Linked DNA regions of Homo sapiens: region 1 is linked to region 2. Evidence: promoter capture Hi-C in human tissues and cell types (Jung and others, 2019). All regions are on one chromosome and are shown on one strand. Each heading gives the region's core, a stretch centred on a gene start or on the middle of the fragment in contact. The rest is flanking DNA. Distances are from core to core; before and after follow the strand shown.

Region 1 (3,768 bases), core at 97-2,596, 83 kb before region 2:
ATCTCTGCTATTAGGGTGAATAGATTTTGTTACTCTAAGTGGTTATTGCTTAAATTGACTGAGCACTCACAGAATGCACAGAAAATTAGCACCAGTCTTTGGAAATGCATTTTCTAGCTACTGCTGGCATGGGTGAGGCAACATAAGAAAAACTGTGTACTGTTCCTGGGAGGGCAATTTGTCAATATATAGCCCATGTCTAAAACAAAATTAAATGAAACTCTGCTTGCCCTTTGACCCAAAATAATGCACATAGCATAAAAGAATATGTTCATGAAGGTGCAAGAACTATATTGCCTTCTTAGCATTACTCATAGTGAGAATGTGAAAAGTAAGCTAAATGTCTATCAATAGAGAATCTGCTAATTTATGGCACTTAACACATTAGAATTCCATTTAAACAATGATGATAATTGAGGACTATCCTTATTATATAAAAGACTGTCAGTGATATCTTAGGTAGAAAAGAAAAATGACAGGAAAGCGTGGGTAGTATAAGCTAGTCTTTGTTATATATGTATACATGTAAAATATATATACATATAATTTGTGTATTCTCTGGAAGGATATATACAAAAATTTAATGGTCTTTCTCTTTGGGAAAGATTTTGTTATTCTTATTTTATCTTCCATAAAGTTTTCTGTTTTGTCTGAGTGTTCAAAATGACTATAAGTAACCTCATAATCAGAAAAAGTTAATTAAGCTATTTCCATGTATGGAAAATATCTTTTCTGAAAAGTTTTGAGATGAGTATATTCATATAGAAATATTGGCTTTCTTTCCTGATTAATACAAAAGATTGATTGGCTTGCCAAATCAGAATCAGGGGAATCAGAGATCTTTCCCAGCATTAAGCTTTAGTAATAATTTCAAGGATACGGGTAATTACGAAGCAGGTAAAAATGCAAAAGTCTGGGATGTCCACACCACTTCCCAGGTCCTTTCTTGCCTCATGAAAATAAGCCATGGGATAGGTTTAACATGAAAGATCTCTAAGTGATGTCTGTGATGCATGGGTGCCCATCAGCTACCCAAAGGGGCTATTTTAGCTAGAAACATCTCCATTTTATTCTCTGGCAATTACTTAGCATTACAAACACATGACATTTTTCAAGGAGCCATGCCCTGTAAATTCATAGACTCTAAGTTTGTTTACCAGAAGCAATTGAGGACTGAGCAGATGCATTCTGCTACATAAAGACCCCTCTGCTAGTGAATATCATTAGCATATTTACCAGAAGGTCTCTTATTAGCATGTTATAAGGAGATCTGACAGAGTCAGAGTCAAGTTTTTTTTTTTTTTTTTTCTTTCCTGCCAGAAGTATCTCCTGTTAAAGGGAGAGAATTGATTTCAGGACTACTGTTAACTCTTTCCTTCTCATCTCTTAAAATGCAAAGGTATTCCCAATGAATTTCTGACTTATATGTGTGTGTTTCTTAATGGAATTTTTTTTAGGACTTTCATTATCATAGCTTTTGTATCTGTGCTCTAATTCTAATTTCTTTTACAGTGTGGGAGCCAAAAATAAAGGCAATAATCTAAGTGTGAACTTTTCAGGCCGCTTACATTTGGCAATTGCAGGAGCTGTCCAAATCCTTCAGGATTAGGAAATCCTTTAGAATAGGGATATTCACCACTCCTCCTTATACTGGGTCACCAGTAATATCGAGACTTCTATAGCTTCTTCCAAACTTTTTTTTTTTTTTTTGAGACGAAGTCTCACTCTGTCACCCAGGCTGGAGTGCAGTGGCGTGATCTTGGCTCACTGCAACCTCTGCTTCTCAGGTTCAAGCAATTCTCCTGCCTCAGCCTCCTGAGTAGCTGGGATTACAGGTGCATGCCACCATGCCTGGCTAATTTTTTGTATTTTTAGTAGAGATGGGGTTTCACCATGTTAGCCAGGATGGTCTCGATCTCCTGACCTCGTGATCTGCCTGCCTAGGCCTCCCAAAGTGCTGGGATTACAGGTGTGAGCCGCCACGCCTGGCCTCTTCCAAACCATTTCTAAGAGTATGAAATAAGCTTATCCATGTAGATCCTTTATGATATAACTGGCATTAGGTACATGCACCAAAGCTGTTGCCAGTGAGAGTCAAGGAAGCATAGCACTTAAGCGTAGGGTCTCTGATATGATGAGACATGGGTTCCAATCCTGATTCTACTGCTTATCTGTGAACTTCAGCAACTTAAGTTAAACTTTCAGTTGTATTATTTATATAAAGTCTATGGGGTTGTTTTAAGGACTAAATGAGATAATATACTCAAGGTTCCCAGTACTGTATCTGGCTCTTAAAAATGCCCTGTAACTCAAATATTTGCATTATTAATATTGGTTTTTTTTTGTTGTTGTTTTTGACAGAGTCTCGTTTTGTCTCCCAGGCTGGAGTGCAGTGGCGTGATCTCGGCTCACTGTAACTTCCACCTCCCAGGTTCAAATGATTCACCTGCCTCAGCCTCCTGGGTAGCTGGGACTACAGGCGCATGCCACCGCACCTGGTCTGCTTTTCTATACATCTTCCTCCAGGTTGCTATTCTTTCCTTAATCCTCTTTGGCATTGTCATGGAGCACTTATTAACTCATTGGGCTGCCTTTGAATCAAAACTCTGTTTATTGATCTTGTTCAGCAGGATCAATTTTCAGGTTCACTGAGAGCATCAGTGATTAAGCCGTAAAGATGTGGAACCCATGGTTATAAGAGGTTCTTCGTTATGGATGCGTGGTCTCTCTAGAGACAAGGTGATCTGACTGTTACGTGGGGCATAATCATGTGGTAGTTTTTAGGGCTGTGCTGAAACACTGAAATCCAGAAGAGACTATAGAGAGCTGAAAGCACGGTGCATCCCATTCCCTCTCTTTGCTCAGACCCACACAACAGAGAGGAAACAGTAGCCAACAGTATCTATGATAACTAGTCGTGTGCTTTTTCTTTTTTTTTTTCTTTTGAGATGGAGTCTAGCTCTGTCACCCAGGCTAGAGTGCAGTGGTGTGATCTCAGCTCACTGCAACCTCCGCCTCCCATGTTCAAGCGATTCTCCTGCCTCAACCTCCTGAGTAGCTGGGACTACAGGTGCGCACCACCACACCTAGCTAATTTTTGTATTTTTAGTAGAGACGGGGGTCTCACCATGTTGGCCAGGCTGGTCTTGAACTCCTGACCTTGTGTTCCACCCACCTCGGCCTCCCAAAGTGCTGGGATTATCATTTTGTCTTACGTTTTTGCCATAATTTGGACCCACAGGAAGCTTGATAATTTTATTAGCACACAGAGTATCACACAGGTATACAATGTGCTGATAAGATCTGGTGAAGATAAAGTAGTTTCTTGCTACAAGCCAGAAGATTCAGCAAAACCCCCATGAAACAACAAAGACTTCCATTTCAGCAAGGTTGCAGTGGATCCACAGTCTATGGTTCAAAGAGATAGAAAATTTGCTTCTTCTTGCACAATTACAACCTTCGGCCCTCTTCGAATTTTGGAGGCATATTGTGTGATCTTAGGTAACTTAATCTCTTCAAGCCTCAGTTTCATCATCTGTCAAATTGAGATAATTGTCCATTCATAATAGGGCTGTTTAAAGACTAGAGAAGGTGATTCATGTAAATAATTTGGCACAGGGCTGGCTTATAGGAAGTGTCTTATAGCAATTTTTTCTGAAGATAAACTTCCTCTAAGTTGCTGAAATGAAAACGAAACAGCTGAATCCTATTGACTCAGAAGCATAGTTTGTAAAACACTTTATCTTGAAAATGTTTTGAGATGAGTAT
Region 2 (3,508 bases), core at 174-2,673:
CTCCCATTTTCACATAGTGCCTCAGGCACTTCATTTACTCTGCAGATTTTCCTGCAATGTCCTTGTACATAGTTATTCCAGCACTTCTTAAGTTGTTCGGTTACTATACACAGAAAGGAGCAATAGAACAATATCAGTGTTTGAGACTGAAGGCACGTTGGTTTTGGGGAAGACAGAGGAGGCTTGTAGGAATTAGGGGTATGGGGTATCCACAAGGCAGACCCTCATATATTCTGAAGAGGATTTTCCGACAAGGTCAACCTCAGTGTTTGTATTTAACTGGATCACTTATATTTAGGTCCTGTGAGGTTTTAGGCCTCCCTTAACATCTGATAGACTCTGCCAAGAACATAAGATCTTATCTGAGAAAATAAAGGAGCTGAACCCTTGATTCTAGGCTATGGAACTATGCTCTACATAGGAACCTCAGCAAATCTGCCTGCATCCTGAATGCTCCCAGAGCACTACCTTCTACTGCACCTCCTCTGATGCCCAGAGAACAATGTATTGTTACTATGTGTTTATGTCTGAATCAAACTGTTCTCCTGAGTTCAAACCCACTATCAGGGTCAAGAATGACTTTCATGTTATCCAGTAAGGTAGTAGTCTATTGGGTCTTAGGAATGTAGAGGGTCAGGAATAGGCCATTACTATTCTTATAATAAGGGACACATGTAAGAAATCTGGTTTTGAAAGAGGAAAGGAAACTCTAATTTTTGAGTTCTCAGTATGTGCCAAGCTTCACATAGGTTATATCATTTAATAAAACCCCTGTTAACCAGGTGTCATTATCTCCATAGATGAGGAAACTGAGGCTCCTAGAGTCTTCACTACTTAAAGTTGACAAACTAGTAGATATTGAAGGCATGTTTCTTAAACCTAACTCCAAAATTTGCTTCTTCCTCTATTCATGCACACACACACACACACACACACACACACACATATATATATTTGAGTAAAAGGAAATATAGCTGAGCATCAGAGTAAAAACCATATCCAAAGACATAAAGGTATCCCTAGATATTGGCATCATTCCTTTCTATAACAACACATCTTTCCCAGAAGAAATTATGACCTCTTTTTAGCTCAGTGAGTACTCCTCTTTAAGGATAGTAACATGGAATAAGGCTCCAGAAAGAGGAAATTTCTGATGATGTTGGATAAACTTTAGCCATCTTTGGGGGCTCTATTTCCCTTTAGTGTGGATTATGAAGTTCCCTTTGGCTCCTGAAAATGCTCCATCCCACTGTTGATTTGAGTGAGCTTCTGGTTTGGTTTACCTGTGGGTTTCTGGAACAGCAGAATTGCAATGATCATGAAGAGCCCCATGGCCAGGCTTTCCAGAAGAGGTGCAGCCAAAGCTTTTGGTCCAGTGAACTGCACACTATGCTACCTTCCTCAGAGACTTAGATTCTTATGCACTGAACCAGAACAGATGGGATGATATGAAGTGTGTCCTTAAGCTTCTGAACTGTGAGCTTTGCATCATGCAGGCAGACACAGGAAATTTCAGGCCACCCACTTTACCCCCACATGGAATAGAGATACAGCATGTTCCATCCCATCGCACCAAATGCCGCTGTGTAGGCTGTAGACTGCTGGGAAGAATCTGTGATTTTCCTGCTTTGACTCTCTGCGCAGCCGGACCAAGATCGAAATGTACTCACCTCCAAGAATGAATGTGGCAGTATAAACCAGGACATAAATCTGAAACTCTAACAATAAGAATTTCTAGTAGGTTTCTTGCACATTTCGAAAGAAGGTATGATGTAGTTGGGTCTGATCTGAGGTCACCTGATTTTTTATAAAAGCACCAAGAACATACACTGGGGAAAGGATACCCTCTTCAATAAATCATGCTGGAGAAACTGGATTTCCATGTGCAGAAGAATATATATTATGTATATATATATGTACACACATATATACATATATATGCACACAATGGAATACTATACATACATAACACACAATGGAATATATATATATATATATACACACACACACACAATGGAATACTATTCACCCATAAAAATAATGAAATTCTGTCCTTTGCAACAACATGGATAGCCTGGAGGACATTATGTTATGTGAAATGTCAGGCACAGAAAGATTACCACATGTTCCTATTTATATATGGGAGCTAAAAAAGTTGAGCACATGGAAGTAGAGAGTAGTGTTGCAGATATTAATATTAGAGGCTGGTAATGATTAGGGAGAGGGGAGGATGGAGAGAGATTGGCTAATGGATGCAAAATTATAGATAGGAGGAATGACTTCTGGTGTTGTAGCACTGTAAGGTGAATATGGTTAACTACAATTTATTGTATACTTTTAAAAGGCTAGAAGAGAGGATTTTGAATGTTCCCAATACAAATGATAAATGTTTGAGGTGACGGATATGCTAATTACCCTGGTTTGATCATTACACATTATATGCATGTATTGAAATATCACTTTGTATCCTATAAATAAGTACAATTATGTGTCAACTAAAAATAAAAGGAAAAATGGCTAAAATGGCCAATGTTATGTCATATATTTTACCACAATTAGAAGAAAAAGATGCATGAGGGTATTTTTTTTCTACCAGTTGTACCTTGTCTTTGAAAATATTAAAATGTTGCCACAAGGAATCGATGTTTACCTAGATCATTCTTTGATCATTGATTGCAGTTTTCAAAAAATTTCAACCCTGTTAACCACTGAGATGCATTAAATAAATAAGCCAGTTGGCTTAGAGATGAGCCCTATGGCCATTATTCAGGTCACGTAGTGGTTTTACACAAGAATATGTTTAAACAGAGAGATGTTGACATATAAGAAATCCTTTTTAGAGGCAAATGTAAATTTAAGAGCAGTTACCTCAGAGGTCTCAAGGGTCACCTCCCTTTACTTTTGCCACCAGCTTTTACATGGTTTAAGTCCTAGTCAAGGGATTGGTTTTATTATTTATAGTCTTCCTGTGAATGCAAACTTTCCTTATAGGTGACTTGGTGGTGGAGCATCAAATAAAGACCCTAAGTCTGAGCAGTCAGGAGAAATACAAAAAGCCTTCCTATTAAAGTTGTATTTCTGAAGCTGGATGTTAAATTAGTAATAATAAATATAAGGATAGGAATGGGTCCTAAGAGCAAGGACAAATTTTTAATAAAACAAATAAAAATAAAATTATAATATTCATATTAGCAGAAGAACATATGATCCATCCAACAGAAACTAAAAAAAATGAGGAATAGATAAGTCACAACTGGAGGGCAGAAAAAAGTCCTAATAGATCAGTAGTTATAATACATTCACATGGCTTAAACTCACTGATTAGATGACAGAGATTCATTATTGGATTAAAAAAAGATTTCAGCAATATTAGACAATAAGACACATATATAGTAGACTGTTATTAATAGAATATAGTAGAATAGATATATTGAACAATGTATCTGGTGAAAATAACCAAAAAAGTTGGGTAAATGTAAAAAGGAAATTACTGCATTGAGAAACCGTC

Evidence for each region. The method cuts DNA at HindIII sites, captures the fragments that hold promoters and counts their contacts. A contact is called where the count stands out against the background at its distance.
Region 1: a fragment that was not itself captured here is called in contact with the fragment with the promoter of DEFB127 in region 2 in 3 of the 25 tissues and cell types used here (aorta, dorsolateral prefrontal cortex and lymphoblastoid cells).

The regions. Positions count from the first base shown.
Region 1 is chr20:238,018-241,785 of GRCh38, reverse strand. No RefSeq gene overlaps it. Among named protein-coding and RNA genes, the nearest start is that of DEFB129, 13 kb to the right of the region's middle. The HindIII fragment of the contact is 4,422 bases long and covers 1-3,557 here.
Region 2 is chr20:155,369-158,876 of GRCh38, reverse strand. DEFB127 (defensin beta 127) reads right to left here and starts at 1,423. Exons shown (of 2, transcript NM_139074.4): 1 at 1,284-1,423; 2 at 1-103. The coding sequence starts at 1,332. The HindIII fragment of the contact is 9,888 bases long and covers 1,053-3,508 here.